3 separate regions of the Homo sapiens genome follow, and all the other regions are linked to region 2. Evidence: promoter capture Hi-C in human tissues and cell types (Jung and others, 2019). All regions are on one chromosome and are shown on one strand. Each heading gives the region's core, a stretch centred on a gene start or on the middle of the fragment in contact. The rest is flanking DNA. Distances are from core to core; before and after follow the strand shown. Region 1 overlaps SRGAP1 (SLIT-ROBO Rho GTPase activating protein 1). Region 2 holds the start of SRGAP1 (SLIT-ROBO Rho GTPase activating protein 1). Region 3 overlaps SRGAP1 (SLIT-ROBO Rho GTPase activating protein 1).

The links. The method cuts DNA at HindIII sites, captures the fragments that hold promoters and counts their contacts. A contact is called where the count stands out against the background at its distance.
Region 1: a fragment that was not itself captured here is called in contact with the fragment with the promoter of SRGAP1 in region 2 in 1 of the 25 tissues and cell types used here (dorsolateral prefrontal cortex).
Region 3: a contact is called between a fragment that was not itself captured here and the fragment with the promoter of SRGAP1 in region 2, in 1 of the 25 tissues and cell types used here (hippocampus).

The regions. Positions count from the first base shown.
Region 1 is chr12:64,051,545-64,054,912 of GRCh38, forward strand. The region is part of intron 6 of SRGAP1 (SLIT-ROBO Rho GTPase activating protein 1); the gene reads left to right. Among named protein-coding and RNA genes, the nearest start is that of KICS2, 170 kb to the right of the region's middle. The HindIII fragment of the contact is 3,643 bases long and covers 150-3,368 here.
Region 2 is chr12:63,842,690-63,846,059 of GRCh38, forward strand. SRGAP1 (SLIT-ROBO Rho GTPase activating protein 1) reads left to right here and starts at 2,011. Exons shown (of 22, transcript NM_020762.4): 1 at 2,011-2,194. The coding sequence starts at 2,128. RefSeq lists silencers at 944-1,363, 1,424-1,483, 1,594-1,853 and enhancers at 1,016-1,517, 1,518-2,017. The HindIII fragment of the contact is 18,473 bases long and covers 1-3,370 here.
Region 3 is chr12:64,075,125-64,078,276 of GRCh38, forward strand. The region is part of intron 8 of SRGAP1 (SLIT-ROBO Rho GTPase activating protein 1); the gene reads left to right. Among named protein-coding and RNA genes, the nearest start is that of KICS2, 150 kb to the right of the region's middle. The HindIII fragment of the contact is 7,857 bases long and covers 1-3,152 here.

The DNA of each region.
Region 1 (3,368 bases), core at 721-3,220, 210 kb after region 2:
TACATATGTGTCATTGACACTGTATTTAATGGAATCTCCTTTTGTTAACTACTACAGCTAAAACTTTTAATAATTCAACACTTTAATAGACAAGTTTGTCTTTTCTATATATTTAGAGGTGATCTAATGGTTTTAAAAATATTTAATAATTCTCAATTTTTATCTGTTTGAGATAACCTTTACCTATCAATATTAGTTTGAATTACTAAAGTGCATTCTCTCTTTCTCTCTCTGTCTCTCTCTCTTTTTCTCTGTATCTCTCTGAGAAATTGCTGCCAATGTAGAAAATCTCTAATCATTTATAAATAATGGTTTTTGGAGGTCTACTGAAATGTATTTTTAGTAAATCTTACATACTTAATTGTGCCTTGTTAGGATCAATGAATGAACATTATGATGAGTTCCATCACTGAACATGACTCCTTCATAAACTTAGTAGGTAAAAATTAATTTCTTGATCAAGTCCAAGTTAAAAATATTAGATATCAGAACTCTAACGTTTATTGATATTGATGGTAATACAATGAAGAAAATGGCTCAATTGTTAACCAAGTATCTATTCTTTTATTTCAGCTGAAAATATTTGAATGTAGTATACCAAACAAGGGTTGGACACTTGTGGGTACTCCAGATATTGAATTATGTCTATGGAGAAGGGAAGGAACTGTGACTGGGGAGGGGGAACTTGGAGAACTTCTGAAATATCAGTAACATTAAAAGGAACATAACCTGGGCACGGTGGCTCACACCTGTAATCCCAGCACTTCGGGAGGCTGAGGCAGGCAGATCACCTGAGGTCAGAAGTTCGAGACCAGCTGACCAACATGGTGAAACCCTGTCTCTACTAAAAATACAAAAACATTAGCCAGGCGTGGTGGTGGGTGCCTATAATCCCAGCTACTCAGGAGGCTGAGGCAGGAGAATCGCTTGAACCTGGGAGGTGGATGTTGCAGTGAGCCAAGATTGCGCCATTGTACTCCAGCCTAGGCGACAAGAAGAAAAGTCAGTCTCAAAAAAAAAAACAAAATAAACGTATATGTTTTGTACTTTTCTGTAAGTATGGCATATTTTATATTTAAAAAAGAAAAAGCATGGAATTAGTAAAATGATAGATATATGCCTTAAATATGTTTAATCTAAAGCTCACCAATATACTTGTACCTGCCAATCTTTTAATATTATGATTTATCTTTTTGTTCTTTGTTTTTACTATGCATTATATACTTTTAATGATTTATCTGTTGTACAGAGTTCAGAGTAATCTTTCTTTACACAAATCACTTTCGTTGTGTATCATTTATAATTTCTAGTTTTGAGGGTTTTTTCATGAAGAAAAAATATTCTGGACATGTACAACGTTTTCACAATCTTGCACAGTTGTTATACCTTTGCCTCACCTAATAGCAATTTTGTTTACTCCTGAGTCTTTCCAACAATTTTTTAGACTTATTTTATCAGTTTATTTCATAGGTAATTAAATTATAGTTATAAATATAAATGGCACAAATATTGTACAGTCTGTTCTTGGAGGCATACAGATGAATTGTTGGAGCAGAAATGTAGAGGAGTATTAGAGAGCACCTACTGGCTGTGTGTGTTCACATTGCCTTTGGCATTGGTCACTATGCTTGAGAGCAAGGGTGGATAAACATTTTCTGTAAGGGGCCAGATGGTAAATATTTTAGGGTTTGTGAGCCCATATTGTCTGTGTCACAGCTACTCAACTCTAGTGCAAAAGTAGCCATAGATAATAAGTAAGCAAACGGGTGTGGTTGTATTGCAGTCAGACTTTCTTTACCTTACCAAGCTGCGGGCTGGATTTGGCTCATAGGCTCTAGTTTGCGGATCCTGATTTATAAAATGAAGCAAGTGTTAGTTAACCTGGAGTATCACTTAAAACAGAAGACTTTTAAGAGTGCTTCTCCTCTGTCTCTGAAGAAAGTCCTAAATAAATTTTAATTTGTAAAATAACAATCTCTTAGCTTGGAATCAAGTGGGAAGTGGAATACACTGTTAATTTCACAACAAATAAGGACTTTTATTATGTCATGCTAAAGAATAAATATAAATTGTAAGAATAAATATATTGCAAATATTGGCCAAAGGAAGTTTAATTGGTTGGGAGAATAAAGGTATCATTGTAGAGGAAAATAGATTGTAGTGTTTGTAAATAATAGTTTAAATATCAGTGATAATTATTATCCCCAATATTAAGTGCAAAAGAGCCTATAACTTATTATCCTGTAAGAATTAGGATGTGTTACAACTAGAAGAAAAATCATAACAGGCAACAAATATTTGTAATTGAATGCTGAGAGTTCCAAAAGATTATGATTTGCTAAGAGAAAAGAATTAGAGTACAAGTCTTAATGCTAGGATCCTCTGATCTATAATCAGATTCAACACACTGAAAATATGGAATTCTTAAAGCAACTGGTTTTAAAATTGCATTACTGATAATGTAGCCTCTTCCAGTTCAGTTCCACACCTTCAAAATGTATTCAGAGAAACTCAGTCCTCAACAATAAAATTCTATCCGTGCTTTCTCCCAGAGCACCTGCCCAGTAATAATAAAGTATTTGTCATCCTTGCAGTACAGTTTCATGGTCTCCAGTTTCTCCCTATAAACATTTGCAGGTTGGTTGAAAGCGTGAAAGATAAATCTTTGTTATTATAATTATGGAATATTGCCAAGGAATAATCCCCTACTCCAGCCAGTTTTCTTCATAGAGATTATCTGTCACATGTGTTTTATTGGCCATTTATGCAGAATAAGATTGAAATTAGATTACATCATATATTGCCTGCCATCCTTTTTTATCTTTTCTGAATAATCAGCTACGTTAAAGCTTTTAGCCTTATCTTTTTTGTGTCTTGGGACATGTGTTTAATTAAAAAGCAACTTATTCAGAGTTCAGAGTTTTCTTAGTTTGACTTTTCCCCCATATAACGGTATTAAGATTTGTCCATGGAAACCTGTCCCATTGTAGTACTGTATTCCCCATTAGACATGAACTCCTATTAGGAAGATTATGGAGAGATCATGTTAAATGGGTTAGGATATTGTAGAGATAATGTAAACTGATTTAGGCATGGTTTTATCCCTTTGTGATAGAAAGGGTATTTAAAAACTGAAATGAGTTGGATGACTGAAGTAGTTGGCTTTTTTTGTTTTGTTTTGTTTTAAGTTTTTTTTTCTTTTATTATTATACTTTAAGTTTTAGGGTACATGTGCACATTGTGCAGGTTAGTTACATATGTATACATGTGCCATGCTGGTGCACTGCACCCACTAACTTGTCATCTAGCATTAGGTATATCTCCCAATGCTATCCCTCCCCCCTCCCCCCACCCCACCACAGTCCCCA
Region 2 (3,370 bases), core at 761-3,260:
CTTCGTTATATTGTTCAAAAAGAGACTAGAGTTTGAGACCAGCCTGGACAACATAGGGAGACCCCCGTCTGTACTAAAATGAAAACAAACAAACAAATAAAATAAAAAGAGACTAGACACGATAGATCTTGTAAAAGGTATCTATTAAAAACGTGGCCGGGCGCCGTGGCTCACACCTGTAATCCTACCACTTTGGGAGGCCGAGGTGAGCGGATCACTTGAGGTCAGGAGTTCAAGACCAGCCTGACCAACATGGCAAAACCCTGTTTCTACTAAAGATACAAAAATTACCCAGGCACGGTGGCGGGCGCCTGTAGTCACACCTACTCTGGAGGCTGAGCCAGGAGAATCACTTGAACCCGGGAGGCGGAGGTTGCAGTGAGCGGAGCTCGTGCCCCTGCACTCCAGCCTGGGCGAGAGTGAGACCCCGTCTCAAAAAAAACCCCCAAAAAACAAAATCAAAAAACAAAAACAAAAACAACCGTAAAAGTACTAAGTGCAATGTAGTGTCCTGTGTTGGATCTTGGAACAGAAAAAATGACACTAGTCGAAAAAATTGGTAAAATTGGAATAAAATCTGGAGTTTAGTAAATAAATAAGCTAACAACGCCGTTAAGTGTGACGTGTTTCCATACCATCGCTTTCCTACCATCCTAGCTTCCCTATCTACTGTAGGAATAGAGGATATGGTGTTCAAGGTGGGTGTTTTTCTCCGCCTCGATTGAAGAGCTTCGCGCTCTTTGGATTAACAGCCAGGTCATTCACAATTCAGTGTTCAGTTTTTCTATTGGGGTCCAGCGTCTCGGAGTAACATCCCTTTGTGTCATGGATACATCCAACTCTGGACTTCCCCATTAGATTCTGGCAAAAGCCCCACCAGAGCCCCCGCCAGAGCCAGAAGGCGGTCCCTCAGGTCAGGAAGGGGTTTTCCTGCCGCCGGAGCCGCGACCTCGGCTAGCGGTGGAGCGGGGCTTCGGCGGAGGGAGGTGCGGGGCCTCGGCGGAGGGAGGTGCCGGGGGCGCCGCCCACGGCCTCCTGGGCTCGGCGCGCGGGGCCGGGCTGCGGTTGGCCACAAGAGGCATCCATCTTCCCGGACCAGCCAGGCGTTTCCTAGCGGAGCAGGGGCGGGAGCTTGGACGGAGAAGGGCACAGGCCGGAGCGCGGTCCGCTCCCGCGAGCCTGGCCCCGCCTGGCGGAGCCCCGAGGAGCCACCGCCCGCAGATCGCTAGCCGGGCGCCCGCGAGGCGCGAGCCGTGTGCGCACCCTCAACTTTGCTGCCGCCGGGGGCGCGGCTCCCGCGTGCGTGTGCGAGTGTGCCTGTCACTAGCGGCCTCCTGGGGGCAGCAGCGGAAAGGGGGACGCAGAGAAAGGCAGCCTCGGCGCACCGCGGCCAGGGAGGCAGAGGCCCCTCGCGGCGCCGGCTCTGGAGACCTAAACTCCGCCGGGGCTGTGCCCAGGGCGCGTCTGAGCGTCGCCGCCTTCACCCTCTCAGCAGCAGCGGGGACTCGCGTCAGGACTGCGATTCCTTTCGCCTGCCGAGCTGTAGCGGCAGTGTCTGCGGGCAGAGGAGCGGCGGCCGTGGCAGCAGCATCCCCAGCCCGGGCGGGACCCTTGAGCGCCGGAGCCGACAGCTGGAGGCAGGAAGGGAGGGTTGTGGCGCCCGAGCTGGGCGCGTTCCCAGCGCCTGCCCTCCGCCGCTGGCCCTGTCCCGGGCGCCCGGTGCGGGTCTCGAACAATGGTGCGGAGCGCCGGCGCGAGCCCCGCGCCCGCCCAGCGGCCGTAGAGGAAGTGGCCGGGCTCCCGGCGAGGTGGGCAGGGAGACGTCCCCCGCCACTCGCTGGCTGGAGTTTGCCTGCGCGTCCGGCCTCTCCCCCGGGGATCCCCTGGGATTACCGACGGAGCTCAATTTCGAGAGTATGGTGCCAGCGCCCGGGCTAATCTAGTCCTCTCTACTCGCTCTTTTTCCCCTCCTCCTCCTACTTCTCCTCTCCCTCCTCCCTTCCCTCGGGTCGGCGCTGCCTCTGGATTGCCTGCGTGTGGGAGTACAACTCTGCCTCTCCAAGGAGAACGGGTTGTGACCACTGAACAAAACTTGCCCATTGAAAGCAAACCCGGAACAGCTGGATAATGTCCACCCCGAGCCGATTCAAGAAGGACAAAGAGATCATAGCCGAGTATGAAAGTCAAGTCAAAGGTAAGGATGGGAGCGGCTGCCTTGCTCCTTTTGTGTGCCTTCTTGTCATTGTGCTCGTGGAGTTGCGTATCTAACTTGGTGTCTGCGTGGGAGGAAGGTGGTGAGGGGACAGCTCGAGCCCTGTCTGAGCCACCTGGGCTTCCTACAAGCCAGTTAGTTCCCAGTTGCAATCCCAGTCCCGTCAAACCCACGGGGAGCTGGAAACTGGGTGACTTCCCCCGCCAGCTGCCAGCCCGCATCTCTAATGGGGAGAGAACTGGCTTTAACTTAACCACCTTCAGCTGGGCAACTTATGTGGGAAGCAGGCAGCAGTGGAGGATCCTGTCCAGCTATTATTATCACCATCATTATTCTTTTTAAATGGTAGGATTGTCACTACGTAATTTTTTTACGGAATGATTTTTGTAAAGTCTGTGAACCCCAAGCGGTCTACAGCCTCATTGAGTGCAGGCTATTTCAGATATTTACACCACTCACCTATTTACACCGCTCACAATTTATTAGGGCGAGACCCCTTTTATTAAATAGCTCCCTAAAAGCCTGGCAGTTAAACGAAGCAGTGACTAGTGGAATCTGACTCTTCCTTTATAATGGGCCAGAATTCATTGCCATCTTTCACACTCACATGGGAATATTGCTTTATCATTTTCTGGAAGCCACTTGCATGTAAAATGAAGGTTTGAATATTTGAGTAGTAGTTTCAGTCCATTTACATTGTCAACTAATGAAGGAAACCTAATTAAGGCTGATTATTTTTACTTTCTATGCCTTGTGATTAAAAATATATATATTTTCTCTCCAATACAAGTATTTTGTTTTGTTACTGAAGTGTTTCGTAAACATATGTGTTACTTGAATTTTTTCCTCCTCTTTCCTGAGGTCTCAGGAGTAGCTTTCCTGATTGAGACAATGGATGGAATGTTGGGACCGCCACTGTTCTTTGACACATTCAATGCAAAGTTCATAAAGATTGCTATGTATACACCTGTGTTTATCTATGCACAGTCTTATGAAAGGGCTACGGAGAGAGGCATTACTGTACTTCCCTTGAGCAAGGGAGGAGCAGCCTGAGTGTTCTTTTGTGTGGTCAAGTTGTAAAAATGCCTGGAGTCCTGTGAGAGGACCTGGTGGAGAAATCCTGTATCATCCAGTGTGAATACAGACCAACTCATTGTG
Region 3 (3,152 bases), core at 99-2,598, 230 kb after region 2:
GAGCTGAGAGCCCCAAACAGAGATTTACCCACATATTTATTAACAGCAAGCCAGTCATTAGCATTGTTTCTATAGATATTCGATTAACTAAAAGTATCCCTTATGGGAAACGAAGGGATGGGCCGAATTAAAGGAATAGGTTGGGCTAGTTAACTGCAGCAGGAGCATGTCCTTAAGGCACAGATCGCTCATGCTATTGTTTGTGGCTTAAGAATGCCTTTAAGCAGTTTTCCGACTTGGGCGGGCCAGGTGTTCCTTGCCCTCTTGCGGTAAACCCACAACCTTCCAGTGTGGGTGTTATGGCCATCATGAACATGTCACAGTGCTGCAGGGATTTTGTTTATGGCCAGTTTTGGGGCCAGTTTATGGCCAGATTTTGGGGGGCTTGTTCCCAACAGAGTCATCAAGTACACTTTTCTCAGAGTATACCATCTTCACATCTGTTTGTTTGAAATACAGTGCTTTTAAAACCTGTGCGTGATACTGTCATTAGAAATTTGTCTACAAGCTACAAGAGCCTATTTGACTAGTGTAGGATGGTGACTCTTTTAATTCAGTCTATAGATATTTGATTATGACCTCCTTAAAGTAATTAATTACAGTATTTTTAATGGTCATTAATATGCTTTTTTTCCAACAGTATCTACTCTTTGCATTGTGCATAACCCCAGGAATGATTATTGTCTATTAAATTTCTTTCCCTTCTTTTTTTAATATTAATTCCATCACATGACCTTCTAAGCATCCAAACTAGTACTAATTGCTACTGTTTCTTTCCCAAACATTATTTTGTTCAAAAAAAAAAAAAAGTAATTGAAAAGATTTCCACTTCCTGTAATGATGGACTGGGTCACTCAACTGATTCTTTCAAAGTTCATTTTCTAGGACAAGATGCATGGCCAAGCCTGAAACCTGTGACACAGGGAACCATATCTTCCCAAAAGGAAGAGCATCCAATATTTTGAACAGTAATAAAATCCAGAGATTCTGAGCTATTAGTGCCCCTAATGGTTTGGGAAAATAAACATTCTCTTTGGAGGATAACCTCACCTTTGACCTCAAGTAACTCTACAAAAAATATCTAGCAAAGATAATTAGACAATGAGGAGATAAGAAACCATGAGTGATAGCCAGAAGAAATAATAGACAATAGAGACACACCCACAGGAACTCCAGATATTGGGATTATCAGAAATAAATGACAAAAGAACTATTTACAATGTTCAAGGAGGTTTTTAAAAGCCAAGCTTAGATTTCATCAGGAAATCATAAGCACTAAAATAACAGATTTGAAAATGAGCTACATAGGAATTCTAGCACTGAGAAATAACCAAAATTAAGAAAGCAGTGGGTGAGTTTAACATCAGGTAGAGCTAAAAAATAAATCATGAAAGCAGACAAATCAGAAGAAATAATAAAAACGCAGCATCAAAAACAAAAGATAATAAAATATGGAAAAGAAGAATAAGAGATATAGAGAACACAGTAATGTCTAATATACTAATTGAACTCCCAGAAAGAAAAAAAAATTTTTTTTTTTGAGACAGAGTCTCACTTTTTCGCCCAGGCTGGAGTGCAGTGGCACGATCTCAGCTCACTGCACCCTCTGCCTCCTGGGTTCAGGCAATTCTTCTGACTCAGCTTCCCGAGTAGCTGGATTACAGGCACATACCACCACGCCCAGCTATTTTGTATTTTTAGTAGAGACAGGGTTTCACCATATTGGCCAGGCTGGTCTCGAACTCCTGACCTCAAGCGATCCACCGCCTCAGCCTCCCAAAGTGCTGGGATTACAGGTGTGAGTCACCACGCCCCGCTCAGAAAGAAAAATTAAAGAATATAGAGTCAATATTTGAAAAGATAAAAGCTGCAAACTTACTAAAACCTATGAAAAACATCACACAAATTCAAGCAGTCCAAGAAATTCCAGGCAGAATATATTTTTTAAATCCTTACCTAGATATATTACAGTGAAATTGTAGAAACCCAAAGATGAATGGAAAATTTTTAAAGCAGCTGGAAAAAGAAAGCAGATTTTATTCAAAGCAATGACAGACTGATGGTAACCTTCTCACTCAACAGGAACATAGAAGCCACAACAAAGTACAGTGATATATTTCTAATATACAAAAAGAAAATAACTGCTGCACAGAAAAAGATATTTAGTAAATGAAGGTGAAATAAAAGACGTTGTCAAGTCAACAAAACAGACACATACTAAAAAGAACTTCTAAAGGGTACACTTAAAATATAAGCACTCGACATCAAAGAATGTAATAAATACATGGGTGATGCTAAGTGAATCTTGACTACATAAAATAATAATGTCTTAAATTTATATATTAATATTTATATATATTCTATTATAATATATTACAAAAATAGCATATAAATCAGGAGGAGTAAATGAAGTTAAGGTGTTCTAAACTCTTTACATTGTGTGACAGAAGGAAAAAGCTATCAATTTACATTATACTTTGATAAGCAAAGGTAGAATATGACCTTCAGTGAATAAAAAGACTACTAGGAGATTAATAAATAAATAAGCTCCTAACAGATAACATAAAGCAGTATCTTTATGGCTATGAGATAGGAAAATATTTCTTAAATAGGACACAAAAAACACTAAAAGGAAAGAATTGATAAATGCATTATATTAAAATTAGAATCTTTGTTCATCTGGACACTATTGAAAGAGGGAAAAACCACAGCACAGTGGGGAAAAATATTTGCAACACATACAACTACAAAAAGACTCATATCCATCTCAACAAATCATTAAGAAAAAGACTCATAACTTAGAAAATGGAGCAAGAGATTTTAACAAAGTGTTCTCAATTAAGGAGATCCAAATTGCCTTAAACATATGATAATGTGCTCAATCTCATATATCAGGGAAATGCATATTCAAACCACAGTGAGATACCACTGCACACCCAACACAATTGTTTAAATTTAAAAGAAAGACTGACAATACCAACTGTTGATGAGGATGTGGAATAGCAGGGATTCTTCCACTCTGCTGGTGAGAATGTAAATTACAATCATTTTGGAAAACAGTTAAGCAGCAATTCTATTCATATATGTGTGACTAAACAAAAATGTGTTTATAGCAGCATTATTCAAAATAGCCCACAACTAAAAAAAATCAT